Regions from separate parts of the Homo sapiens genome. Here regions 1, 2, 3, 4, 5 and 7 are each linked to region 6. The links are contacts of gene promoters, found by promoter capture Hi-C in blood cells and fetal thymus (Javierre and others, 2016). All regions are on one chromosome and are shown on one strand. Each heading gives the region's core, a stretch centred on a gene start or on the middle of the fragment in contact. The rest is flanking DNA. Distances are from core to core; before and after follow the strand shown. Region 1 overlaps CILK1 (ciliogenesis associated kinase 1). Region 2 has its middle 27 kb from the start of MCM3. Region 3 overlaps PAQR8 (progestin and adipoQ receptor family member 8). Region 4 holds the start of IL17A (interleukin 17A). Region 5 overlaps IL17F (interleukin 17F). Region 6 holds the start of TMEM14A (transmembrane protein 14A). Region 7 has its middle 29 kb from the start of PAQR8.

Region 1 (3,801 bases), core at 220-2,719, 380 kb after region 6:
TGGCAGCACCAACATGCCCACAGTGGAGGCAAAGTGAGGGACTGGTTCCAGTTTCCACTCAGCACTGATCTGCTGTGCCTCGGGGCATCTCTTGGTCCTTGAGTTTACTTTTGGTGGAATTAGGGCATGGGACTTGCTCTAAGGTGGTTTCTTCCTCTAAAGCTGTGTGATTCTGTGACTCTGTATCAGGAATTGAGCTAGCATTTGTCTAAGAAAAAAAAAAGGATAAATGTTTCTGCTTTTTGCATCACATGAACAAAGGTTAGCGGAGAAGACAGTGCCACCGAAGGACCCTGTATGCTACACACCTTTCTTTCAAGAGATGCACAAGTGCCCCAGTGCCTCAGCCAGGCCCCAGTAAACATTAAACATCGATTCCTTCTCTTTCGAGCTCACATGTCACCTCTTCCAAGCCTCCTGCCCCAACCTACACATATAGACCCGAGAATGGTCCTCTCCCTTGATGCCATAGTGCCTTGTCCTCACCTCACTGCCAGCCCCTTCCCCGTGGCAATGACCTGCAGGTGTACCCTCTGCTTCAGCCTCGACACTCTCCAAGACTGCTTCATCTTTGTCTTCTCACTCCACTTGCAGTAGCAAGTCCTCAAAGATTGTTTGAAGGGCCCAAATGTGAGTTTTAGTCTTTGCTATTATTTTCTGTACCACCTTGGCTAAGTACCTCAAAATTCTCAGTGCTTCTATTTTGTCATACACAAAACAAAGATAAACTGTTGGGCCCAACTAAAAGTTCTGAAGTTCTGAAGTGGAAGAACAGTGAATACCACAGAATAGCTGGGGCAGGCAGGCAGCCTGGGCCCTCCCACAACAATGCCAAGATGACTGAGTCTCAGAGGATCACAGAAAGTCCCCCTCCATGCGGTCAGATCAGGCCTTTGGCCTTTGGGTAAGGCTGTACTCAACTACCAAAGAAAGACAGCTTTATCTCTCTTTCAAAGAGTTCCAGCAAACCTTTGAAGTCAATGTTATGATGTTCCTGGCTAGGTGACATTGGGGAAAAGCTTCCTGTGATTTGCCCCAATTCCCTCCCCTCAGCGTCAATCCTCGGTGGAGGCAAAGAACATTTGCTCATGGCCAGCAGCTCACATCAGGTGCCTTGCTCATTCACAGCCTAAAAAATGGAGGCGAGGGGCAGGGAAAATTGTAGTTCATTCTTTATTTTGAAACCTTAATCAATGAATTAATGCCATCATTACACATTTTCTAAGACAGGAGACAAAAAGTTACAGCAAACTTGGGGTTCTCTGGGAGTTGTGGTTTACCAGGCCCACTGACACCATTCAGTTCCTTAGAAGGAGCTTGTCTCCCTTTGCATTAATTATCTTACATTGAAAAGATTCTGTTACTTTCATTTATCCTCCTAGGAAAAGTGGATTATATGCAAAATCATTAGATGACCCTTCTCATGGTAATTCTGAGTTCCATTTTACCTTTACAGGTTTATAATTAGACTTCGTATTCTAGGTTTGAATGTGTCCTAACTTTACAAAAGTCAGTGAATACTGTTAATTTCTTTTAAAAAGGTACTAGAAATAGTATATCCGGGTTTATGTTTTTCTCCTGGACCTAATTCTTCTGCCTCTGTACATTTTAGCAAGCAAACCTTTTAAGCATTTTGCCTCTTGGACTACTGCTTTTTTTCTGCATAAGGAATAGCAGTTACAAAGCCAAAAGGACCTTCTTTACATGGATCTTGCTTTGTCTTTACCTTGACAGAGGAGTGAATTAAAGATGCATTCAGCTATTGCATCAACTGGATGTTAACAAGAGAAGATAATCCGTTACATGATGTGCCTTCTTCTGTGCCCCAGAAACTTCTTCATACCTTTACCATCCCTCTCCTCTTTCAATCCCAGCTTCTGAAAAAAGAACTCGTCCTGCACTAGGTCCTTAATCCCATGAGAAGCTTCCATAACTCCCTGTCGCTTCTCTTACAATATAAAAGGTGCTCACGCCTTGAACCTTAAAAAAGTTCTTCAATCACTTGCAGATGATTTTTAAACTAGGACACATAGTTGGCTTTGGTGGACTGTAAAGAACTGAAGTAAAGGCGAAATGTTAAAAAAAATAAAAAATAAAAAAACAGCCAGAAAAACAAACCTTTACCCTGCCATGTGTGAAACTGTAGATGAGCTAGAACGAGAGTCCCCAGCTTAATGAAAACTGCCGAGGGTGGCAATAGTCCTGCTTGCCTGTGTTTCAGGGGTGGGCAAGATAAGGGATAGTGAAGATAGGGGAGTGACTAAGAGCATATCACAAGTTCATGTAGATAGTAACTTTCATGATACTGGCAAATAAGTAGCTGGACGTTACACAATAATACTTTACCTTTCTGGTTCTAACGCATTATCTTTTACGGTAGTTACAAGGACAGCCACATGTTATCAGTATTTATATGCTATTACAACACATTTGACTAAGGAGCTGATCTCAGTGTAAGATGCTTTGCTAGCATGTATACAAAAAATCAAAATGAATTAAAGGAAGTAAAGGCTTAATGTAAAAATAAAATAGGGCAGGGATAAGCACGTTTTTTCTGTGAAGGGTCAGTAAACAGGATAGGCTTTGCAGGCTCTCCATCTCCGTCACAACTCCACTCTGCCATTGTAGCATGAAAGCAGTCAAAGACAATATGTAAATACATGGGCATGGCTGTGTTCCAGTACAAATTTATTTACAAAAACAGGCAGCAGGAAGGACTGGCACACAAGCCATAGTTTGTCAAGCCCTGAAGATGAGGAAATCCCCCAAATAAGCAGAAGCACTTTAGTACTCTCCATAGAGCCCTCACTTACCCCTAGGTTACAGGGCTACATACAAGCTGTGTTTAACCTTAGAATATAAGCTCTGTGAGGTCAGAAACGTTGCAATATTCACAACTGTATTCCCAGTACTCAGTTCCCAGAGAACTGGCATAGTTGGCACAAGTACGGACTCACAATAAAGACATGTTCAATGAATTAACTAATGAATGAACAACTTATGGAGCTTTAAAAGGCAATCCTGACCATAGATGATTTTCCTATACTACCACGTCCACCCTCACTGTCATCCCGTCACGCCCCACTTCTTTGCAAACTGGACAACTGTACTGGGACTAGGGTACCAAAATTATGACTCCTTCTAAAAACTTTTACACTAATTTAGGAAAAAACTTGCTTTTCAACAGCTAAGATCACATGAAGGCATGTATATCTTACATTTTTCTTACTCCCCTTTGTCTTAGTTAAATCATTCTCTAGTAAATTCTCTTTCAAAGCAAAGGCAATGTCCAAGAGGGCAAAACCATTAATAACTATCTTTTGGGAACCACAAGTTCATGCAGATAGTAACTTTCATGATATTGCCAAATACGTATTTGGGCATTATACAATAGTACTTTCCTTTCCGGTTCTCAGGCATTATCTTTTATGGTAGTCAAAAGAGCAGTCACATGTTATCAATACTTTATCACAGGTCATGCTTCACCTATAGAAAGGTAAAAAATAACTCACACTGATCTCTCCTAAAAAAACGTGTGGTTCTCATAAGCTCTGGGCCATCGTTATACATTTATTAAGTGGCTACTAAGGGTTCTTGACATGGTGGGAAAAGCACCAAATGAAAAGCAAGGCACTATTGTGGCCCTTTCATTTCAAAAAAAGTGAGTTAGGATGACAATCATCTGCTAGGAACTACAAGTTCACGCAGATAGTTACTTTCATGATATTGTCAAATATAGTTGGACATCACACTTATAATACTTTATCTTTTGGTTCAGAGGCATTATCTTTTATAGCAGCC
Region 2 (3,702 bases), core at 512-3,011, 360 kb before region 6:
ATGTAACCACTAGGGACACTGAGCTAAGTGTACAGGGGAGCTCGCTGTATTACTTCTTTTTTTTTTTTTTTTTTTGAGACGAAGTCTTGCTCTGTTGCCAGGCTAGAGTGCAATGGCACAATGATCTTGACTCACTGTAATTTCTGCCTCCCAGGTTCAAGCGATTCTCCTGCCTCAGCCTCCTGGGTAGCTGGGATTACAGGTGCATGCCACCACACTCAGCTAATTTTTCTATATTTAGTAGAGACGGGGTTTCATCATGTTGGCCAGGTTGGTCTCGATCTCCTGACCTTGTGATCTTCCCACCTCGGCCTCCCAAAGTGCTGGGATTACAGGCATAAGCCACTGTGTCTGGCCTCTGTACTATTTCTTATAAGCATGTGTAAATCTGTAATTACATCAAATTTTTAAAATGAATAACCAAAAAATTATATTTCTCATAGAAACAGTCTTATTATTTTTTATTAATTTTTTTACAAAATAGATTTTTCAACTGGTTCATGAAAATGAGCAAAATGTATTGTCTAAATAAAGCCATACCAATTTTTCACCTTATGAGAAATGGAAGTTAGGTTCATTTGGAATAATCTCTTCTCAATGAAAACTTGTTGGTGCCTAGCAATGACTTCCCTTTTTTTATGTTTATAGGATGCCCTTCAAGAACTTTGCCCAGGACTCTGGCATCTATGGTTTGCAGAATCAACCTTCTTCCCCTTTTCACAAAATGGAATAGTGTGTACCCAGCCACAGTCTTCTGGCGTCTCTCCCCGGCCCCACAGTCCCTGAAAAGCTGCCAACAGTCTTCTCATATATAAATTCTGTTGGTACCCCAGCCGGAATTTGTCCAAGCTTGGAGACATAAGCTCATTGAAAGCTAGGCATTCTCATACAATACCCCATTTATTTTGTGCCTCAATGTCTTCCTGCTGATATTTGTATGAAGAACATTCAACTTTAGAAAAGTTGGAACAGGGAAGCTGGTGTTTAGAGGTGGAAGCCAGTAAGTTCCGGGTGCAAATCCAGATTCTTTCATTCTCCAAAGGTCTGATCTTGGGCTAGGTTATCCAATTCTTTGAACTTCAGTTTGCTAATCTGTAAGATGGGAATAATAATCGCTATTATTATTACTATTAGGTTTCAGGTTGTAGTGAAGATTGAATAAGATAATATTTGTAAAAATGCAGAGCACGAATGGATAGTAACAACAAAGCAGGTGAGATGAACAGATCTGCTTCCTCATAGATATGGGGATTAATGGGATTTCAGAGTTGGAGAGCACTAGAGAAGTCACCCAGTCCTACCTCCTGCTCAGCGAGAGTGGTACTCATGAGCCAGCACATTTCAGCATGAACCAGCTTCTCCCTGTCACCTATCACCATCCCATTCGCTCCTCAACAACATGCCTGTACCTTCCATCCCCCATCAAAACCTTTAGAAGGCCTTTTCTCTGTGCCAGTACTTTAAACCCTTTATCTCATTAATCCTTACAACAACCCTGTGATACGTTTTTAATGTTCCTTTTACAGCTATGGAAACTGAGGCTCAGAGATATTAAGTAACTTATCGAAGGCTACACAGTTAATAAACAGGATTCAGCCCAGGTCTGTCTGTAACCAATGCTCCTACTCTTTTCTGCAATATTACATGGCCTTTAAAAAAAAAATTCTTATTTTTCTCAAACAGCTCATTCTTGGCTTTATCCATTTTGTCAGCTGTCCTGAAAGTCCCTCTTTTAGGTGTCCGTCTTTTAGGTGTATCCTTCTGCTATGCACTAAATAGTGTCCACTGAAAATTCATATGTTGCAATGAACTTTAATCCCCAATGTGATGGTCTATGGAGATGGGGCCTTTGGGAGGTACTTAGGATTAGATGAAGTCTGACAGCGGGACTGTCACACTGAAGTCAGTGCCCTCATAAGAAGAGGCACCAGAGAGCTCACTCCACCATAGCCCCAGCACACAAACAGGAGGTCATGTGAGTAAACAGTAATGGCAGCCTCCTACAAGCCAAGAGAAGAGGCCTCAGGATGAGACCTGCCTTGCCAGCACCTTGATCTTGGACTTCCCAGCCTACCGAACTGTAAGAAATAAATTTCTGTGCCTTAAGCCATCGAAAAGTCTATGGCATTTTGTTATGACAGCCTGAGCAGACTAAGCCACCTTCATTGCATCTACATTCTCTTTTCTCAATGCGGCATTTTTCAAATCTGAGCTGACTAATGAGTTTGCATTTCAGCTTGATGGGTCTCTCCAGCTCTCAATTTCCTGCCTTCCCCATTGTTCATTGTATCCTCAGTGTTCAGTTTTTGACAGTTCTCTTATTCTCTGGAGACATCCTCCTGTTTAGTGTCTCAGGCCATGTAATCAGATCTGTGATTTTTCCCTGAATGGTTTGACATTTGCCTTCATAACATCTGACAGTGTCCATTCTTGTGTACTCCAAACTTTGAAAAGATACAGGTCTGCTCAGTTCTGGGGCATAGTGAAAAAAAGAAAGAAGGCATGGATACTTTTACCTAGGCTTCTAGTCCTTCAAGTTGACCCCATTAGTTTCTGCTTGGAGAAACTTTGGGGTCCAAGTTATGCCCAGACTACAGTGTCCCCTTACTTCCTCTGCTTCCTAGGAGCTGCAGTTCTTGGCCAGGCAAATCAACAGGTTAACAGATATGACGCGTAAGCTTTCCTGCCCTTACTGATACCTCCTCTCCCCGAATTGCTCTAGCATTTGTTGTTTATTCCTTCCAGTTTAGCCCTTGATTGCTGGGCCTTGTATCCATTAGGCAAAGTGCTCAGGACCTACATTTCTTCTATTTTTAATTGGCTCTTATTGGCAAATCTGGAATCAGGCAACATCTCATTCTACAAAATAGAATGAGTATTCCTGGACCTACAGTTCTTTCTAGGTCCACAAAAATGTCTGAGACTTTCAGGGATGAGGGGAGAATGACATTAAAAAAAAAAGTTTGCAAAATCAAAATTAATATATGTATCTTTAAATGTCCATAAATTTAACATGATGAAAATTAATTAACTGCAACTCAATTCTACTCTAATTATGTGGTGATATACGTGGTGTTTGATGTAAAATGTGGGTTCAATATATTTTGTACTATGTGGGGGTAGCAGAGCCTCTGAGATTAGAAATGCCTGGGACCTACTGGAGTCTTAAAACTGCTCTGCTTGATTGTTTTACTCTATGCTTTGTTCTAATTTCTTACATCATTCTTGATGATTTAGTAGCATCATGCTACTAAATAGGTAGTCAAATCCTTTAACATATTGCTATACCATGTGTTAAGTACTGTGTTCAGTACTTAGGGTGGGAGTGAGGGGTGATTCACAAAAGATAAAATGGGGGCCCTGGGCCTAAGGAGTTCAAAGTCTAGTTGGTAAGAAGCAGCTTTATCTTTCCCCACTTTCCTTTGCCTCCCCTCGCTTCTTTCAGTTCTTCAAATTCACTGAGTTTCTTCCTTCCTACCCCAGGACCTTTGCAGATGCTGTTCCTTGGAATACTTTTCCTGCTACCATTTGCTCAACTTCCTAACTCCTATCCATTCTTCATTTTAAATGTCACTCCCACTGGGCACAGTGGCTCATGCCTGTAATCCCAGCACTTTGGGAGGCCGAGGTGGGCGGATCACGAGGTCAAGAGTTCGAGACGAACCTGGCCAATATGGTGAAACCCCCGTCTCTACTAAAAAT
Region 3 (4,233 bases), core at 727-3,226, 290 kb before region 6:
GGCACATGCTATGACATGGATGACCCTTGGGGATATTATGCTAAGCAAAATAAGCCAGTCACAAAAGGAAAGCACTGTATGATTCCACTTATATAACGGACCTAGAGTAGTGTTCTCTGAATTCATAGAGACGGAAAGTAGAATGGCGGTTGCCAGGGGATTGGGAAGAGGGAGCCATGGGGAGTTGTTTAATGGATACAGAGTTTCAGTTTTGCAAGATGAAAAGAGTTCTGGAGATCGGTTGCACAACACTGTGAATTGATTTAACACTACTGAACTGTACACTTAAAATGGTAAGATGGTAAATTTTATGTTAGGTATTTTACTTTATTTTTATTTTTTGAGACAGAGTCTCGCTCTGTTGCCTAGGCTGGAGTGCAGTGTCGCGATCTCGACTCACTGCAACCTCCGCCTCCTGGGTTCAAGTGATTTTCCTGCCTCAGCCTCCCGAGTAGCTGGGATTACAGGTGCGTACCGCCACACCCAGCTTTCTTTTTTTTTTTTTTTTTTTTTTTTTGAGATGGAGTCTCGCTCTGTCCCCCAGGCTGGAGTGCAGTGCTGCGATCTCGGCTCACTGCGAGCTCCGCCTCCCGGGTTCACGCCATTCTCCTGCTTCAGCCTCCGAAGTAGCTGGGACTATAGGCGCCTGCTACCGCGCCCGGCTAATTTTTTTGTATTTTTAGTACAGATGGGGTTTCACCGTGTTAGCCAGGATGGTCTCGATCTGCTGACCTCGTGATCCGCCTGTCTCGGCCTCCCAAAGTGCTGGGATTACAGGCGTGAGCCACCGCACCTGGCCGCTATTTTGTATTTTTAAGAGATGGGGTTTCACCATGTTGGCCAGGCTGGTCTTCAACTCCTGACCTCATGAGATCCACCTGCCTTGGCCTCCCAAAGTGCTGGGATTACAGGCGTGAGCCACCCGACCCGGCCTGGATTTTTTTAAAGTGTGAGCAGAAAATAACATGTTAAGTCACAAGGTGATAAGTAGTACTATGGAAAACAAAGAAAAAGTAGAGCAGAGTTAGGTGTTGTGGAATGCCAGGGAGAGTAGAAATGCGGTATTAAATCAATAGGGTGGTTGGGAAGCCTCCTTGAAGAGGTGAGATTTGAGCAAAGACTGGAAGGAGTTGTTTGTCTCTTGGCTACTATTAAAATCTGTGTCTAAATCTGCCAGGGTCCACCCGTGGTATGGCAATGCTCAGTCAATAATCAAGCTGTGTATATCTTTTAAAGTACATATTCGTGGGCAGCTGTGGACGTGGACATTTCAACTCATTTGGAAAAACAATCCAGGCAGTCAGGTAGCACTTCACAGATTATAATCAGATATCATCTGAGACTTGAGGTTATGTTACAGTAAGGACAAATGGTTATTCTTATATGTGGCCTTTTCTAAAATCAACCTATAACCTAGAAACAAACACCAAGGGTTTGATTTCTTTAGTTATTCCAAAATTTGCATGTTGTTGTTTGTCCTGAGAAGTTGTGGTGCCTTGGGAGCTGAGAAAACGTACATTTTTCAATATGAGTTTTAAACGCCTTCATTAAGACTAGGATTTTCCAGGCTTCAACTGACCTTCCTGTCAACTTAAAGAGGGCAGCTTAAAAATCCTTACTTCATGTATTCTTTATTTGATGGATCATATGGCATGGAATGGTGAGCTGCTTATAAAAATCCTGTGACCTGGACATGTTTTATTACAAATTTATGAGGCTGGTATAAACAGGTATCAACTTGCTATCATTTAAGCCAATACTTTGTACTCACGAACAAACTGAAAGAGGTTTGCATCCTTGGATACTTGAACTGATTTTTCCACATATAATTTCTTAACCTCATTTTTCTAGGTCTAATAAAAAGAAGTATACTGAGCATAAATCTCTACTTTGGAACAGGAAAAAATCTCCCCCACCCTCCTCCTCCCACTGAACTTTGTGGGGAAATTAATATCTATGGATGGACAGGCACCTTTGCTTTTCCCCAATCCTGTCTTCTGGTCAAGAATTCTAAAGCTACAACACTAGCAGCAACTCAGAACACACATGGCTGTTTGTAACTCTCTTGCCAGGCCACATTTATAGAATAATTGCTAAGGTGACAGGAACTAGGTGGGGGAAGAGGAAACGGATTCTCTCTCTAAGTCCTTTCTACACTAATGGCAACAAGCATTGGTGGATTCAAAAAGCACAGCAATGGCTGGGTGCGGTGGCTCGGGCCTGTAGGCCCTATACTTTGGGAGGCCAAGGCGGGTGGAATGATTGAGCCCAGGAGTTCAAGATCAGCCTGGTCAACATGGTGAAACCCCAGCTCTACAAAAAGTATAAAAATTAGTCAGGTGTGGTGGTAAGTGCCTGTAGTCTCAACTACTCAGGAGGCTGAGGTGGGAGAATAGCTTGAGCCCAGAGGTTGAGGCTGCAGTGAGCTATGACTGTGCCACTGCACTCCAGCCTGGGTGAGATCTTATCTCAAAAGAAAAGAAAAAAAGCACAGCACCAATCTCAGAAATTGCCCCCTACTCCAATTTTTGTTAACATTCTTATCCACCCAATGTTTGATTTCTTTTAGTTCTGAACACAATTCTTATAAAATTACTGGCATAAATGTAATATTTTGGGTGATTTAACAAGAAAGGAGGAGAAATATTTTCCTTTATCTTTATGCATACACAGCTCTCTATGGGCATTTAGCCTCAGCTGGTTGTTGAGCTCAGGGTATACCCTAAACATTTAGTTTCTCCCACATACATTAGAGAGCCCCATGAAAATACATAAATAATAACACATGAGAATGTAGCAGCCATTAGGTGTATATTATTGTCATAAGATATATATCATTAGATAATGATAGCAGTACTTGGTAGCAAAAGGAGAGTTTAGTGGATTCAACAGATGTTTGTTGAGGGGCCACTCTGGCAAAAATCTGTGCTAGGGTCTAAGCAGGGAGGTACCATACAACACAATACTTGCCCATAAGAAACTTATGGCCTACTTGGGAATACTCAGGTAACTACAGAACAAGGTTGTATATGGTAGCATCATTTAAGTGATACAAACTGGAGGATGCAGGAGAATGGATGGAAGAAGATATTGCTTTGACCAGGTGAGTTGGAAGTCATGGAAGAATTGGCATGTGAGAAGTGCCTTCAGGGACAGATAAGGTTTTCTGACAGGAAGCTATTCCAGGTAAAGGCAACAACCTGGGCAAAAGTCTATAAAGGAATCCCCTTCTAGTCATATACATATCCAATAAGACATGGGCAAGACTAGACTGCAGCCTAGGGTGTCGGAGCAAATCACTAGAAACAACCTCCATGTCCATCCACAGGAGGATGAACTAAAGAATTGTGGTATATTCATACAGTGGAAGTAGTCAGCAAAGAAAATGAGTCAACTAGAGAATAGCAACTAATGTGGAAAAACACAAACGTAGATTAAATGAAAGAAGAATGTTAGGTACAAAATTTGTATCAAGGTTAAAAATATCCAAAAAAATCTTATTTATAAATTTCATGTGGTTTTATTGTATCATTATATGTAGATATAACTATAATTTCAAAATGTTTTCATGTGAAAACAGTGGGAATGAAAACCACCCACAATGCATAGAGACTGCCAGTGGGGAGGGTGGGAAGGGAATGGGTAGACATAGGAAGCTACGTTTCAGTTGAATCCATTTTTTTTTAAGACAGGGTCTCACTCTGTCACCCAGACTAGAATGCGGTGTCACTATCATGGCTCACTGCAGCCTCAATCTCCCAGGAGCAAGCAGTCCTCCCCCTTAGCTGGGGCCACAGGCACATACTACCATGCTCAGCTAATTTTCTAAAAGTTATTTTGTAGAAACAGGATCTCCCTATGTTGCCCAGGCTGGTCTCAAACTCCTGGGTTCAAGTGATCAGCCTCCCAAAGTGTTGGGATTATTGGTGTGAGCCACTATGCCCAGGTAATTGTATCTGCTTTAGAGAGAAGAGGACAAACAGATAGATACACTAATATATTTATAGACACATATAAACACATATACTATGTACATATCTATTTTAAGATCTAAAGTAGACATCACGTTAACGTGATAAATGTTACGTTATTCTCTACACTCTTCTACATACTTGAAATATTTCATAATATAAAAATGAAGGAGAAAGTCACAGTTCAGGTTTAGGAATAGCAAATGGTATAGAACAGTGATTCTCAAACCTTAACATGACCCTTGGCAAGAAATACATTTTA
Region 4 (3,821 bases), core at 466-2,965, 480 kb before region 6:
GAAAAGCAAGCATAGCTCATCCAAGTGGGTGAGAGTGTGAGTTAGAGGAAGCTTGGAAATTGGTGATGTGAGAGATGCTGCAGCTTCTGGGATTGCTGCCTGGTCGTGTGTAGAGGAGGGGCAGTAGGGCTCATTCTGAATCTTGTCTTGAAAAGCACATAGATAGTGATGCCAAAACCAGGACTACGGAAATCACTTGAAGCTGTATCCTACCTCCTCCTCCATCTGTATCTGCTTCACCTATCAAGGATATCTACTATTGCCACTAAAATTCAGGTGCTTATGGCCTCCCTCATTCATCAGCCAGGGTTTATCTGGCCAGGAAAGAGAAGCCCCTTCAGGCATTTGCAACAGAGGGAGTTTAAGTCAGAGAACTAGTCACCCTGGTAGTTGAGATTGCCATCAGCAAGAAGCTGTTACCATTTGAAGGCTGCAGGGACAAAGGGAGTGAGCAGTCCTCTGGGAGACTGAGGAAGGAAGCTCCTGGCTTCTCCCCACTTTCCACTTTCCACTTCCCACTTTTACTCATCTGTCCTCCAATTCCCTTTTGGCTGAGCCTAGCTGAAACCCAGCTGACAGGGGAGTTTGAGCAAGCAGCCTCCAGGGTCAGCCCTCTGAGTTACAGGTAGAGCAGGACAGGGAGGAATGGATCTCAGGACAAACAGGTTCAGGATCCGGCAAACTAATTTTACACTCCAGCCATTGAGTTGGAACTACTGGCCAGCCTCCCCCCGAGTTAGCATGTAGAATATGGGATACCAGCTGAGTGCCTGAGAGTTATCATTCACCTCAGTGGGGGTAGGGGCGGAGAAGGGTGACATATAGCCAGCCACATCTATATCCACTGGCCCTTCCTTGTCCTAGTCCTCTGTATTCCTGAGAAGGAACTATTCTCAAGGACCTGAGTCCAAGTTCATCTTACTTAGAGTACAGAGAAAAGAACCGCTAACTCCTTCTCTCTTTCCCCCATCATGTCTCCTCTCCTTTCTAGTTCTCATCACTCTCTACTCCCCCCTGCCCCCCTTTTCTCCATCTCCATCACCTTTGTCCAGTCTCTATCCCCATTTTCAATTCCTTCCTCAAAACACCAAGTTGCTTGGTAGCATGCAGGGTTGGAACATGCCTTTAACAGAAAATCTCGTGTCTCTTGAACCTAGTTATTTATTCCTTGAGCAGAGTAGATATTCAACAAAAGAATTGTTAAATTCAATTAAATAGGATATATCTTATTATTAAATATTTTTTTCATTTTTTGTTTACTTATATGATGGGAACTTGAGTAGTTTCCGGAATTGTCTCCACAACACCTGGCCAAGGAATCTGTGAGGAAAAGAAAGATCAAATGGAAAATCAAGGTACATGACACCAGAAGACCTACATGTTACTTCAAACTTTTTCTTCCTCATGAACCATTAAAATAGAGCATAACTCTTCTGGCAGCTGTACATATGTTCATAAATACATGATATTGACCCATAGCATAGCAGCTCTGCTCAGCTTCTAACAAGTAAGAATGAAAAGAGGACATGGTCTTTAGGAACATGAATTTCTGCCCTTCCCATTTTCCTTCAGAAGGAGAGATTCTTCTATGACCTCATTGGGGGCGGAAATTTTAACCAAAATGGTGTCACCCCTGAACCCACTGCGACACGCCACGTAAGTGACCACAGAAGGAGAAAAGCCCTATAAAAAGAGAGACGATAGCGCTACATTTTGTCCATCTCATAGCAGGCACAAACTCATCCATCCCCAGTTGATTGGAAGAAACAACGATGACTCCTGGGAAGACCTCATTGGTGGTGAGTCCTGCACTAACGTGCGATGCTCTTGCTGATTTGGACCAGATAGTATTTCTGGACCGTGGGCATGAAACGCTGGGTTCTGACTATGGAGATCCAGGAATACTGTATATGTAGGATAGGAAATGAAAGCTTTGGTAGGTATTTAAGTCATTGTGCAGCATTTTCAAGAACTGATACACAGCAGTTTGAAAGATAAGATTAAAACTGAAAGATAGCTATATTGGGGCTAAACCACACAAGAAGTGTCACATGATGCTGTGCAGTAAGAAAGAAAATTTATTGAAAGTCTGTTTTTCTGAGTACAAAGGATTTAATATAATTCTCCCACGGCATTTTTCTTTAAAATGGGTCACTATCCTTGAGATTTTGAAAGCCGTAGCAGCAACAACCTTTGTTTCCATTATCTCGTACCATATTCTCAGTACATTGAAACTATGTATTCTAACTAAACATAGGTATAACTGTGTTTTAGAATAAGTGGGGTTTATATTTTTTAAATATTTAACTTCAAGTATCTTTTTTGAAATCTGATTTTATTACAGAATCAATACATGTTAAATTTAGAACAACTGGAAAATATACCTAAGAAAACATGAAGGAGATCGAGTTTTTAGTTGGATGCCTGCCAGTAGCACCAACAGCACTTCTAGCATGAATATTGATACCACATAGATTTTCTATAGCTCTTTCTTCCAATGTGAATGTTTGACTTCACGATGAGTTTCACAGAATATGGGACTGAGAACAATGGTGCAGGAGGATATTTCTACCTAGAAAATCAAGGTTATTATTCCTTCCCAGACCTGACAATGATGCATGTGCTGATAGGCTAATGACATGCCATGACTTGACATTTTTATTAAAATTATTGCCAACCAATGGATAACATGTCTTTCCTAAGTCAAAAGGAGAATGTTGAAACTAGTTTTTTTAAAAAAATTTTAAAGCCATGGTGTTAACATTATGTTGGTCATCTACCTAGATTTTTCTCTAGCTGATCTGAAAAATGTAGTATAGATTGTCCTGGAACATTGTGTGTTCTCTATGATTAGCAATGCATCATCATCACAATTAATTTGTCAAAAAGAACCACATAGTAATCTAATCTCCAACCTCTCTCTCCTTTCCCATTCAATTCTAGTCACTGCTACTGCTGCTGAGCCTGGAGGCCATAGTGAAGGCAGGAATCACAATCCCACGAAATCCAGGATGCCCAAATTCTGAGGACAAGAACTTCCCCCGGACTGTGATGGTCAACCTGAACATCCATAACCGGAATACCAATACCAATCCCAAAAGGTCCTCAGATTACTACAACCGATCCACCTCACCTTGGAATCTCCAGTACGTAAAGCTTCCAGATAAAAATGCTATATTCTTCATCCCTCTTATGCATCAGACTGCCAGTTAAATCTCCCTGAGGATGATTTTATTCATTTAGAATTACCAGTCAAACCTGGAAGGACCACTGTGAAGAGCAATTCTCAAACTTTCTACAGATTTCTTTAACCAAGCACAGGACAGCCTCCAATAATCCCTATCCTGTTAGATCTAATTGTCACTGACACCAATAATCAACCCAAATTAATTATAATCATTATTCTAATATTTATGAGACCCCAAGTCTATTCTTTATTTATTCAAAGAATAGACATTTATCAAAGAGGATTAATGCTTTTATTATCTTAACCAGAGCTGCCATTGAGAAGATTTATTGCAAATAATTAATAATTAGGGTTTTTTACTTTTATTCTTTTGCTTATTTTTGTTTTTGAATCCCAGTGGAATAAGTATCACTGGGGTATTTCTACCCCTTTGTGTGTTAAATAGTCTTGATCTACTTCCTAACATACCTATGCTTGCTGTATCCTTAGTATACCCAGTATTTAGACCCCATCAAGGGTTAAATACCAAATGTATTTTGATCATTTGACTTCATACAAATAAGTCTCTGTTCTGTGGAGCCTACAGATTGGTCTGATTGTAGGATTTCTTCTCTTCTTCCCATTACTAGGAAGA
Region 5 (4,174 bases), core at 1,637-4,136, 430 kb before region 6:
CTTCGGAGCCACCCCTCTACCTAGAATACACTGCCTAGAATACTCTGTCTGTCAAAATCCTACCCTTCCATTAAGGCCCAGCTCAGATGTGATCTCCTCTAAGAACAGTCCCTAAAATGGTTCAATCAGAAGCATGTTTATTATCCTTAAATTATAAAGCTTTGATCATCTAGCACTCAAGCAGCATTTTTTAATTGTCTAGAAATGTAGTATTTGTGTTCCTGTCAGATCTACACCCATTAGATTGTAAGTTCCTGCATATTACACATTTTCCATAAACACTTTTGGAATGAATGAGTGAATGAGTGAATGAATGAACAAAATGATACAGCTAAATTGAACTATATAGTTAAGCTCACTGCATTAAGAAAAACATTACGCAAAACCAACGATAGCAAAGTTCCAATTATCCATGCTAATTGAAAGAAACCGGGGCACTAATGATGCACCACAAGAGAGAATATGGAAACTATTTCTCTTTAGCTCTGGAGCATTTTTTTTATACTTACGTTGAAATGCCAGTTTATCTGGTGTTATAGGAATGCGCAAAGAATGAAAGTGCACTGAAGACCTAATGAAAAGAAAAGCTACAAATCTTGCCAGATTCCCTTTGTCACAACCATGCTTTGCTCACCCACCATTGCCACTGACCCTTACTGGGGATGAGCAAGGCCCATCACCAACTCTCAACATAATACAGAAGAAGAGCTGAAGGCCGGGTGCAGTGGCTCACGCCTGTAATCCCAGCATTTTGGGAAGCCGAGGTGGGTGGATCACCTGAAGTCAGGAGTTCAGGACCAGCCTGGCCAACATGGTGAAACCTCGTCTCTACTAAAAATATAAAAATTAGCCAGGCGTGGTGGTGCACGCCTGCAATCCCAGCTACTCGGGAGGCTGAGGCAGGAGAATCCTTTGAACCTAGGAGGTGGAGGTTGCAGTGAGCCGAAATTGCACCACTGCACTCCAGCCTGGGCGACAGTGCGAGACTCCTGCTTGGAAAAAAAAAAAAAAAAAAAAGAGCTGAAAATAAGTTGCTTTTATTCTCTAGGCTTAGCGTTGTTCAGGCTCACACCTTCCATGAGTTAAGGTAGGGAAGGTGATTAGACATGTTGGTTTCAAAGGCCTTCCTTTTCATATTTTGCAGATACTAGAGACAAAAAACAATAAGAGTAAACAAAAAGGTCATAGTGTCCATTTGCCATACTGAGGAAGCTGACACTAAAAAGAAGTTGAAAGCAAGATTGACCCAGAAGAGTCAGAATGAGGCTGATTTGCCTTTAGATAATCAGCAATCATCAACTTTCATCCCCCACAATCGTTCATTCATTCAACAACTAGCTCTTGACTTTACAGTGTGGTAGCTCAGGGCATGGGCTTCAGAGTCAGAAGTCCAGGGTCTGTAACTCAATTCCAGGACTCTTAGAAGCGATGACTCTGTTTCCTCAAAAAAAAAAAAAATGTGAAGATTAAATGAGATGATCCATATAAATTATGAAGAACACTGGCAGCATATGATAAGTATCCAATACTGGCGACTCTTGCTAACTCTATATTGTGCTACACAGTGGACTAGACAGATGTGGAATTTACACTCATATACCTTGTCTTGACAAACTGCTATGGCGTTTGTTTGTTTGTTTGTTTGTTTGTTTGTTTTGATGGAGTCTCACTCTGTCGCCCAGGCTGGAGTACAGTGGCACAATCTTGGTTTACTGCAATCTCCGCCTCCCAGGTTCAAGCGATTCTCCTGCCTCAGCCTTCCGAGTAGCTGGGATTACATACGTGCGCCACCACACCTGATAATTTTTTGTATTTTTAGTAGATATAGGGTTTCATCATGTGGTCAGGCTGGTCTTGAACTCCTGACCTCAAGTGATCTGCCCACCTCGGCCTCCCAAAATGCTGGGATTACAGGCCTGAGCTACCGCGCCTGGCCTGCTATGACTTTTTTTTTAAAAGATGCCAACTTATATTAGAGGGTCTTAGATAACTTCCCAAGCCTACCAATCACATATTTAGGGTTCTTAAGTAAATTCCTCCTTTGTGTTTTCTCTTTCCTCTTCTGTGTCATACTCACTGAATCACTATTAATTTTCATTATGAAAACTTTTAAATACATACATTGGAGTTATATGACTTAGCAATAATTACAATGCTTCTAACAAGTCATTATTACATTTGCTTATATATTCTTAGAGTATATTAGAAAATTCTTTTACATCTCTTTAAACACTGGATTTTCACAACTACCTGGTGAGGTAATCAGAGCTAGTATTAATTATCCCAATTAGACAGGTGAAAGAGTTCTGTCCCAGAGGGAATAAATAACTTGATTGGGTTCACCAGCCTATGAGTACCAGTCTGGGGACTCAAACCTAGGTGTCAGTAGTCAGTGCTATTGTCATTGAAGGTCATTTTTATTATTACCAACATTAATCTTAGTTTTGTCTCATTAGAAGAGCTAAGTGTTTTAGGTAATGTGACAGCTGTACTAGATGTGCATAAGTGTTGTAGGTCACATAGCTCGTTATCAGGAAATCAGATGATGTCTGCAAATACTCCAATTTGCTCCACAAAGCTTTTGATCTGAAACTGTAGATTTTAGTGGTTATGTAATACAGAGCAGGGGCTCTGAACCAGGCTGTTGCTGGTTCTTAAGAATGATTTAAACAGCACCTCTCAGAGAAATCCAGAGCATGACTTGAACTCTTATATGCCACCTATAAAGCAGATGAATAGATATCGCTCTCAATCTGTATAATAGGGGACAGGGGCAAGGGAAAGCACCAGGTGAAGGTGAGCTGTAACAGGACAACAACCTTCTCAGCCTAGCTTTGCACCTCACTCTAATGTGAGCTCACCTGAGCAACCTGAACATCCATCCTCTATACTCACCAGCAATGTGTGGACACATGTAAGCATGCACCTGGCCAACCTCTAGGTCCATGAGAATTTGCCTCAACTACTTATTGAAGATGTCCTATCTGCCTGCACCTCTCAACTTCTAATCCTATTCCAATGCTCCTTGCACTGTTATGTTTCTTGCTGACAACCCAACAGATTTCTTTAAGGAAACTAGAATTAGAAATAGCTATGGAGCACAAAGCTACCCAACAGAATTGCTTGGATGCAATGGCTTTAAATTCACAAATCTTGCCTCTGAACCAAAGAAAAGCATACTGTATGTGGAGACAGAAAGCTTAGATTGGTGTACCAGTTCTTGTGCTTACAGTATCCAGCAATGTTAAATAAATAGCTTAATTGAGCTTTTGTTCATCTGTATAAAGTGGAAAGTATTCCCATCTACTTCAGTGGATTGATCAGAATTTCCAGGACAATAATAACAATATTAATATGAACAGTTAACACTTACTGAATGCTTTCTCTATCATTATCAGTCGTTGTTTATTAGAATGGCCAAATTAACTGAAAATTAAGCATACACAAATCTGCCAGTACAGAGTATAGACTCATTTATTCTCAAAGATATTAATTAATCCTCCCAATAAATGCCATGAGAAAGATGCCATTGTTATCCCCACCATACAGTTGAGGAAACGGAGGCACAGAGAAGATAAATAACTTACCCAAAAATCCTACATTTAGCAAGCAGTGGAGCCAGGTCTGCCTGACATCAAAGCCTATGCCCCTAAATATGGCACTTTGCTGAGCTACATGTAATCTTTAAAATAACACATAAATATAAAATAAAACATACCATTGCTATATGCCATGAACCTTTTATGATATTCAAGCTCTTTTAAGTTGTATGGCTTGTAAAAGGAGAAAAAAAGGAAATTATCTAAGCCAATAATATGATGCGGGATTTCCTAACCCCTGTTTTCATGTACCTCTATAGTAAATTCTTCTCAGGCCTTATCTGACTAATGTCAGGCAAGATTCCAGACCTGCTGGGGCTAGATTTTCATTGCATTAACATCTCTCTTTCCTCCAAGAAGAATGAGATGGTACAAAATAAATAAATAGCAATCAGAGACATGGGAAATTTCCCTTCTCTAGGAGCTGTCCAAAGTCAACACTGGGTGATTTCATTTCTTCCATCCAGGGCACTCCTGTAATCTCAGGGGAATCATTAAACCTCTTGAGGCCCCAGTTTCCTTGGTTAAAATGTATATGTACATAATCCCTAAAGTGCTGGCCAAGCTCCCACCAT
Region 6 (3,684 bases), core at 293-2,792:
GTCCAGAGGGGAGTTATTTACCCAGGTCACATCAGATGAAGATAATGAAGTATTCCAAGAGGATTTTAGTTTTATTCCAAATAGGGTAAGTGTTCTGAGAGTGTGAGGAGAGAAGGTGAGGAGGCTGGGGTAAGGATGGGCATAGAAGGGGATGGAAAGGAGGGCTGAGAGAACTCAGAACCAAATTTCAGGCTATCACTTTCTCCACGCCACATTCCAGTGCCTTGCCATCAACTCTTCTGTGAATCTTCAGGAATTTTATTAATTCCCCAGGACCAACTTAGACTTTCATAAGTTAGATGTAGTTATATTACTTCCCTGAAGCACTTTTATGCACAAAGAATAGATGTAGCAAACAAACTTCACAAGATTTAATTTTTGAGTTTCCTTTTTTATTCTGAGGAATTCCGCTGTAATTCTCAGTGACACAGAACCTCTAGAGCTACTTCACTATGACAACCTTCTTCAAATCTCCAAAGGGCTGTTACATAAGGAAGAGGGTCGGAGTTCTGTATTCAATCAAGAAGGCAGAAGATTGAGATGATAAGTTGCTACAGGGAGGCATAATTTAAAGTCAATTTAAACTGTAATCCCAGCACTTTGGGAGGCAGAGGCGGGAGGATTGCTTTGAGCTCAGGAATTCAAGACCATCCTGGGCAACACAGTGAAACCCCGTCTCTACAAAAAAAAAATAGTCGGGTGAGGTGGCACACACCTGTAATCCCAGCTACTTGGGAGGTTGAGGCTGGAGAATCGCTTGAACCCAGGAGGCAGGAGGCAGAGGTTGCAGTGAGACGGGATGGTGCCACTGCACTCCAGCCTGGGCGACCGACTGAGATCCTGTATTTAAAAAAAAAATAAGGTCAGTTTAAGTTTCGTTCCTGGGATTGAGCGGATTGCCTTGCATTAGGCAAGGTTTTAAGTGCTTTCCAACTCTGGAATTCTATACCTTTCCCAGTAGATATCTAAACCCAGCAAATCCTGGGCCTGAAGTTTAAAACTAGGATCCTCGTCTCCCAACCACATCTAGATGATCCCATAGTGTAATGAAGGGTGCTTGGGCTTTGACACCAGGCAAACTTGGATTTTGACCTGGGACAACTAAGTCACTTGACCTCACTGAACCTTAGCTCCCTCCACTGACAGTGGGGACAGTCTGCTGGAGGGTGTGTAGAAGACCTCGGGTTGCCTTTTGGAGGTTCTGGAAATGTCCCTTGAAAGATGAATGGAGTTAATTTAAAAATCTTCGCCTTCTGTAATTTTGGCTTCTTGCAAACACGCTTCCTGCCAGTCCTGCTCCGTCAGGCGGGAGGCAGCAAACCCCAGCCCTGGCTCCAGGACAGGGCCGAAGGCAGGATAGACGGAGCAACGGGTCCGGCTGCCGCCGGGATGTTGCAGCACAGGGCCTCCTGGCTGCCTGGCCTACAGGCCGCCCGGATTCAGCCGGAGGGCATGGACCGGGTGGAGTCCTGCAAGGCGAGAAGGGACACAGCGCATGCGCGCGGCAGGGAGGGCGTTTCCAGGAGGGAGCGGCCTTTGCTCAGCGCGAGACGGCTGGGCGCCGAGTGGGACAGCGCTGGTGCGGAGACTGCTTCCGGACTCCAGGTACCGCGCTTGGCGGCAGCTGGCCCCAGACTTCTGTCTTTTCAGCTGCAGTGAAGGCTCGGGGCTGCAGGTGAGCTGTGCATCCCGCAATGGAGACCTTCCTGCTCTGAATTTTCTTACAAAACTGCAGAAATATAAGGGGCGTTGCTTAGCGGGCATCCCCTCCCCCGCGCCAAACCTGTACAGCAAACGATGATGCAGAGGACCTTGAGGGGATTTTGCAGGGCATCGGTCTTACCTCCGCGGTATCATTTTTCTCCTCCTCCCGAGTTTCTGCCTTCTGGTATCCCTAAATATCCCACCTATCCTGCCTCCTACCTTCCTGGATCTGGGGTGGTGGGGTGGGCTCATGGACCATTGCAAAATGCTTGGCAGGATTTTAACCTTCTCAGCACCACCCAGACCCCACTCGAAAATGTGCCTTTTGTGCCCTCCAAGAGCTCAAGGGTAGGTAATTGTTATATCTTTAGCATGTGAAAATGCTTTTTATGTAACAGTTCACCGAAAATCTCTTAATTCTCCGAATTTTGGAGGATTTGGGGCGGGCAGCGAGGCTGTCCCCTGTCACCTTGTTTTGTACCTGGTATGGTAAATCGTTTTGCTGCATTGCATCCAAGATGCGTTTTAGTCCTTCCAAGGCTTGAGCATCACATTTGTGATGAGAGCGTGTGATGTGCTGTGCACATCCTCTCCCACCTTATCCCTTCCATGTTAACACAGCCTCTGGCTTTAATGTGTGCTTCTGGCCTGGCCACATGGCTCCGTCATGGAATAGGTGATTCTTTTGTCTGAATATTCTCTGTGAGAACAGAATCTTCTTGCAAGCATTGGGAGTAGATTTATTTTGCCTCTTTAGAACAACAGTCAGTTCGCTAAGGAGATTAAGGGGCTACCTGTTTCCTGGCAATAAAGCTGTATTGGGTAGGTCAGTTACAGAATGTCTTCAGGCAGAAGCTGTTCCTTTGGTTCACTCACTCATTTATTCATTTAACAAGTATTTTAAGTACCTGCCTTGTGCATGGCAGGGTTCTTGGTGCTGTGAGGAGGACAAAGATAAACTGAACCTTGGTTTGCCCTCAAGGAGCTTGGCTGGCTGAGAGTTGAGAGAATCCCAACCAAGTAAAAGGGTATGGGTCCTCAAGAGAAGATCGCAGGAAGAGCTGGGGGGCTCAGGATGGAGTGGAATTAATCTTTCACAACAGCTACTTAGCTTTAGGAGAAAATTAGGTCTAGAAGTTACACCTGATAATGAAAGAACTCTCATAAGCTTCAGATCTGTATGTAAGGGTGTTTTCCGGACTGTGTGTTGGGCGTCTCAGACTGAATACATTCTAAACAGGTCCCATCATTCCTAGCCACCTCCCTCTTCCCACCGCCACACACCTGCTGCTGTTCCCATGTTCTCTGTCTCAGGGAATAGCATGAGGCTCCCCGACTCCCTACTTCTCCTAATGGTCTAAGCCAGATACCTAGGGGTGAGTCATCTCTGATTCACCCCTGACTTTCCCTTCCCGCCTCAAATTCAATTCTGATTCTACCTCCTGAACTTCTGAAATCTGTCCACCTTCTCTCCATTCTCATTGCCATTTCTCTAGATAAGCCTACCGTTATCAACTAAGCTCTTGCTTACTTTACTGCAACAGCTTCCCGATTTATCTCCCTGCCTCACTTCACAACCCATCTTCACTACTGCAACTGGGAAGTGCTTGCTGGAATTTAAATCTGATTGTGAGGCTCCCTTCAGTGATCCTTCATTGCCCTTAGGACGGAACCAGACTCCCTTTACGGGGCTTATGTGGGTGTACAGCCCTGTCTTTCTCACCAGCACCCTCTCTTTTCACAAGCCCCTTGCACTTTTCATTTTGAGAACATGCTTTCTTGTGCCATTAGGGCCTTGCACATGCGCTCCCTTCTGCCAGGAACACCCTTCCCTGCACCCTCTTCACTTGACTTATTCATGCTCCCCTGTAGGGTAAATGCACCTGACAGCAATAATTAAAGCATACCCTTAGAATGACCCTGTGTGGCAGATGAACCTGAATGTGTTTTCTGAACTAGGGAACCCAGGCCTGCCCAACC
Region 7 (3,825 bases), core at 65-2,564, 340 kb before region 6:
TTTACATAAATTAAAATAGGTACCAGGCTATGCCTTTAATAACAGCACTCTCAGCTACCTGTTTTTTGCTTTTTTTTTTTTTGAGACGGAGTTTCGCCCTTGTTGCCCAGGCTGGAGTGCAATGGTGTGATCTCAGCTCACCACAACCTCTGCCTCCCGGGTTCAAGAGATTCTCCTGCCTCAGCCTCCTGAGTAGCTGGGATTACAGGCATGTGCCACCATGCCCGGCTAATTTTTTGTATTTTTAGTAGAGACGGGGTTTCTCCATGTTGGTCAGGCTGATCTCAAACTCCCCACCTCACGTGATCCACCTGCCTCGGCCTCCCAAAATGCTGGGATTACAGGCATGAGCCACCATGCCCGTCCTGCTACTTGCTTTTAAATATTATTTTGAATGGTGTTAATGCCAGAGCTGAGGAAATAGCACATATAACTCACATTCCAGCTTGTCTTTGTCCTAGCTCTTAGAGAAGAACGCTATATAACCTCTAATACCAATGGAGATTTAAGTATTGTAGTGCTTCTTTATAACTTTATATTTATTTCCAATTTATCTTTATGTTTTCCAATAATTACATTTTTAGTTTAAAAAAGAGAAAAAATAGAAAGGAAGAAAACATTCATAGGACAGGTATATCATTAAGTGAATATTTTACTTACTCACATGTTTATAAAATGTTTTTATGAATATAATACCCCTTCCCTGAGTAGTCTGTGGTCTATGCTTTACTTTCCAGCTAAATTTTAGGAAACTGCATCAGAATTTAAGTCAAGGGAGTGAGTAATGCATGGTGAATATTATCTGTTATTGGTATATTGCAACAGGAAAAAAAAATAAAACCTAACTGACTGAGTGACTCAATGTCTATTTCAATCTCCTTTGAGTATGCCTTCCCATACTGCAGAATTGGGAAGCCAAAAACTACATTTTCCAAATTCCCCAGGTAGAGTTTCTAAGGATGTGACTTAGGTTGTGACAATTAGACACACTGACATAAGACTCCAAATTCAGAGTTGAATGAGTTGTTGGGGCACAAGGCGGGCAGGGCAGGAAGCATCTATTCTGCTTGTGCGGAGCACAGCAACCCTAGGTTGTGAGTTTGCTAGCTCAGCTGACACTCCCTAACTGTGGCAGAAGCAGCAACTCCCCTGGCAACTCAGTTCTGAGTGTGACTTTGTTCCTAGTAATTCAGCCTCAAATCCACTTCTTCAGCTCTCCCACTGATTCTGTAAGCCAATTAATACCTTGCAATAATCTTTTTGGCTTAAACTAGCTAGGGAAGGCTATGCTTTCTGCACCTGAACCATGACCAATGTAGTCAGCGAAACCTGAGCCTTTGAGAAAAAGCTGAGGAGAAGCCAGAAAAGTAGCAGTAAAACCAGGACAGGCTGCTACCCTACAATCAAGACAGAAGAGAGTTTCAATAAGCAATGAAACACTGCAGAGAGGCCAAGACAGACACAAATATGAAGTAAAAACGATTCAGCCAGGAGGTCAAAGATGATGTGGAGAGGAGCCATTTCATGGAGTGGCAGGGGAGGAAGCCATATTGCAGGTGGTTGAGGAGAGTCTTCCATTTTATTTGGACTTAATTTTTTTGAGACAGGTCTCGCTCTGTGGCCCAGGCTGGAGTGCAGTGGCGTGATCTCGGTTCATTGCAACCTCCACCTCCCGGGTTCAAGCAATTCTCTGCCTCAGCCTCCTGAGTAGTTGGGATTACAGGCACACACCACCACGCCCGGCTAATTTTTGTATGTTTAGTAGAGATGGTGTTTCACCATGTTGGCCAGGCTGGTCTTGATCTCCTGACCTTGTGATCGATCCGCCTTAGCCTCCCAAAGTGCTGGGATTACAGGAGTGAGCCACCACGCCCCACGTGGACTCAATTTATGAAGTAAGAGTCAGGTGCTGACTACATGATGTGAGAGGTACAGGAAGGTTTTTACATTTCCTATTACTGTGCCTAGAAGCCTACATGGTGGCCCAATCAGGAGGTAGGAATTTTTCTTCTGTCGTCATCTATTAAAGGGGCTCTAGCCCCAACTCTGCCACTGGGAGTTCTGTGAAATAGTTCTCTGAAATTCCATTTTAAAAGAGAAAAAGTTCTTTAGAAAATGGGCATATGGCTAGGTGCAGCTGCTCACACCTGCAATTCCGGCACGTTGGGAGGCCAAGGTGGGAGAATTGCTTGAGCCCAGGAGTTTAAGACCAGCCTGGGCAACATAGCAAGACGCTATCTCTAAAAAAAAATACAAAAATTAGCCGGGTATGGTGATGTATACCTGTAGTCCCCACTACTCAGAAGGCTGAGGTGGGAGGATTGCTTGAGCTAAAGAGGTCGAGGCTGCAGTGAGCTAGGATTGAGCCACTGCACTCCAGCCTGGGCAATGGAGTGACACCCCGTCTCAAGAAAGAAAGAAAGAAAGAGAGAAAGAGAGAAAGAGAGAAAGAGAGAAAGAGAGAAAGAGAGAAAGAGAGAGAGAGAGAGAGAGAGAGAGAGAGAAGGAAGGAAGGAAGGAAGGAAGGAAGGAAGGAAGGAAGGAAGGAAGGAGAGAGAGAGAGAGAGAGAAAGAAGGAAGGAAGGAAGGAAGGAAGGAAGGAGAAAGAAAGAAAGAAAAAGAAAGAAAGAAAGAAAGAAAGAAAGAAAGAAAGAAAGAAAGAAAGAAAGAAAGAAAAGACAAAGAAAACAGGCATACTAATACCTGTCCTGCCTTCTGCACAGGCAGAATGGTGAAAGAGATAAGAGCACAGGATTTGGACTTGGTCAGACCCAGGCTTTAATCCTGATTTTGCCGCTAGTTAGCTGTGTGACCTTGGGCAAGTTATGTATACCTAGCTTTCTCCTCTGGAAATTAGGGATAAGAGTATCAGCTTCACAGTGATTATGACGATTAGTTGAGGTATGTAAGGCATTCAGCACAGTGACTGGCAGGTAGCAAGCTCTCAGAAGATGACAGTTAATTTCATAAGTGGTCCAAAATACCTTTTGGGAGATAATGCTCACGAGTGTTTTATTCACAGGGTTGCTGGCCAAATGAGAAAATGCACAGGAAAGCAAAATGTAACAGGCCTATCAGGATGAAAACACTGTGAGAAAGGTCACACATTAAACCACAAATGTTTTGGGTTCCTTGACAACTAGATTGTGCTACAGAGTTGGTAGGGTAGGGAGGAAGAGGAGAAGCTGAACTTCAACTGCTGCAGTTTTTCCTGGGGCTGGCCCTTGTTAGAATAATAGACACTCTACCATAGAGAGGCAGTTGATTCACCTATACCTGTTGGATAAAAAAGAAAACCATGTGGCTGGTGGAGCTGAGAAAGTGGAAAGAATAAAGGGAGCAGAAGATATATTGCTTGAAATCAGGCAAAAGTTCCATATATCAAAAGCCTCATTCTGGCTGACTTCATCACCAAACTCCCCTCCCAGAGGCCTCTGCCTGGGCTTTTGCAGAAAACATGTACAAACTCTATGCAAAGTAAGAATCCAAAATAGCTTATTTAGAAATAAACCACCTGCTTGTACAAACAGGAAGATCTGAAATCCCTGGAGTTGGGCAAGTGAGTTCCTTGCTTCCCTGCCTAGCCCAGCCTCCTACTGGACCCCCACTACCACAAAGGGATGGAATTACACTCCTTTCTCTCCAGCCTCTTTGCTTTGCTTTTTCCTTTTATTTTTAGTTGTCATGTAATAATTGTACAAATTGATGGGATATGGAGTGCTATTTCTTTTTCTTTTTTTTTTTGAGATGGAGTCTCGCTCTTTCACCCAGGCTGGAGTGCAGTGGTGCAATCTCAGCTCACTGCAACCTCCGCCTCCCGGGTTC

The links. Contacts are between HindIII fragments. The CHiCAGO score rates a contact against its expected background, and 5 or more counts as called.
Region 1: a fragment that was not itself captured here is called in contact with the fragment with the promoter of TMEM14A in region 6 in 5 of 17 cell types (naive CD8 T cells, erythroblasts, megakaryocytes and 2 more); the score reaches 8.8 in naive CD8 T cells.
Region 2: a fragment that was not itself captured here is called in contact with the fragment with the promoter of TMEM14A in region 6 in 2 of 17 cell types (monocytes and naive CD4 T cells); the score reaches 8.3 in monocytes.
Region 3: a fragment that was not itself captured here is called in contact with the fragment with the promoter of TMEM14A in region 6 in 6 of 17 cell types (neutrophils, fetal thymus, M1 macrophages and 3 more); the score reaches 5.8 in neutrophils.
Region 4: a contact is called between the fragment with the promoter of IL17A here and the fragment with the promoter of TMEM14A in region 6, in 1 of 17 cell types (naive CD8 T cells). The highest score is 5.0, in naive CD8 T cells.
Region 5: a fragment that was not itself captured here is called in contact with the fragment with the promoter of TMEM14A in region 6 in 1 of 17 cell types (total CD8 T cells); the score reaches 5.4 in total CD8 T cells.
Region 7: a contact is called between a fragment that was not itself captured here and the fragment with the promoter of TMEM14A in region 6, in 1 of 17 cell types (monocytes). The highest score is 5.4, in monocytes.

The regions. Positions count from the first base shown.
Region 1 is chr6:53,053,784-53,057,584 of GRCh38, forward strand. All of the region lies in intron 1 of CILK1 (ciliogenesis associated kinase 1), which reads right to left. Among named protein-coding and RNA genes, the nearest start is that of CILK1, 6.1 kb to the right of the region's middle. The HindIII fragment of the contact is 905 bases long and covers 1,018-1,922 here.
Region 2 is chr6:52,310,358-52,314,059 of GRCh38, forward strand. No RefSeq gene overlaps it. Among named protein-coding and RNA genes, the nearest start is that of MCM3, 27 kb to the left of the region's middle. RefSeq lists a silencer at 1-5. The HindIII fragment of the contact is 1,829 bases long and covers 848-2,676 here.
Region 3 is chr6:52,379,128-52,383,360 of GRCh38, forward strand. The region is part of intron 1 of PAQR8 (progestin and adipoQ receptor family member 8); the gene reads left to right. Among named protein-coding and RNA genes, the nearest start is that of PAQR8, 19 kb to the left of the region's middle. The HindIII fragment of the contact is 5,472 bases long and covers 1-4,233 here.
Region 4 is chr6:52,184,660-52,188,480 of GRCh38, forward strand. IL17A (interleukin 17A) reads left to right here and starts at 1,716. Exons shown (of 3, transcript NM_002190.3): 1 at 1,716-1,799; 2 at 2,944-3,146. The coding sequence starts at 1,773. The HindIII fragment of the contact is 1,880 bases long and covers 50-1,929 here.
Region 5 is chr6:52,239,442-52,243,615 of GRCh38, forward strand. All of the region lies in intron 1 of IL17F (interleukin 17F), which reads right to left. Among named protein-coding and RNA genes, the nearest start is that of IL17F, 3.0 kb to the right of the region's middle. The HindIII fragment of the contact is 621 bases long and covers 2,577-3,197 here.
Region 6 is chr6:52,669,571-52,673,254 of GRCh38, forward strand. It overlaps TMEM14A (transmembrane protein 14A), which reads left to right and starts at 1,543. Exons shown (of 5, transcript NM_014051.4): 1 at 1,543-1,675. RefSeq lists enhancers at 759-1,259, 1,248-1,407. The HindIII fragment of the contact is 3,190 bases long and covers 1-2,870 here.
Region 7 is chr6:52,330,881-52,334,705 of GRCh38, forward strand. No RefSeq gene overlaps it. Among named protein-coding and RNA genes, the nearest start is that of PAQR8, 29 kb to the right of the region's middle. The HindIII fragment of the contact is 7,409 bases long and covers 1-3,825 here.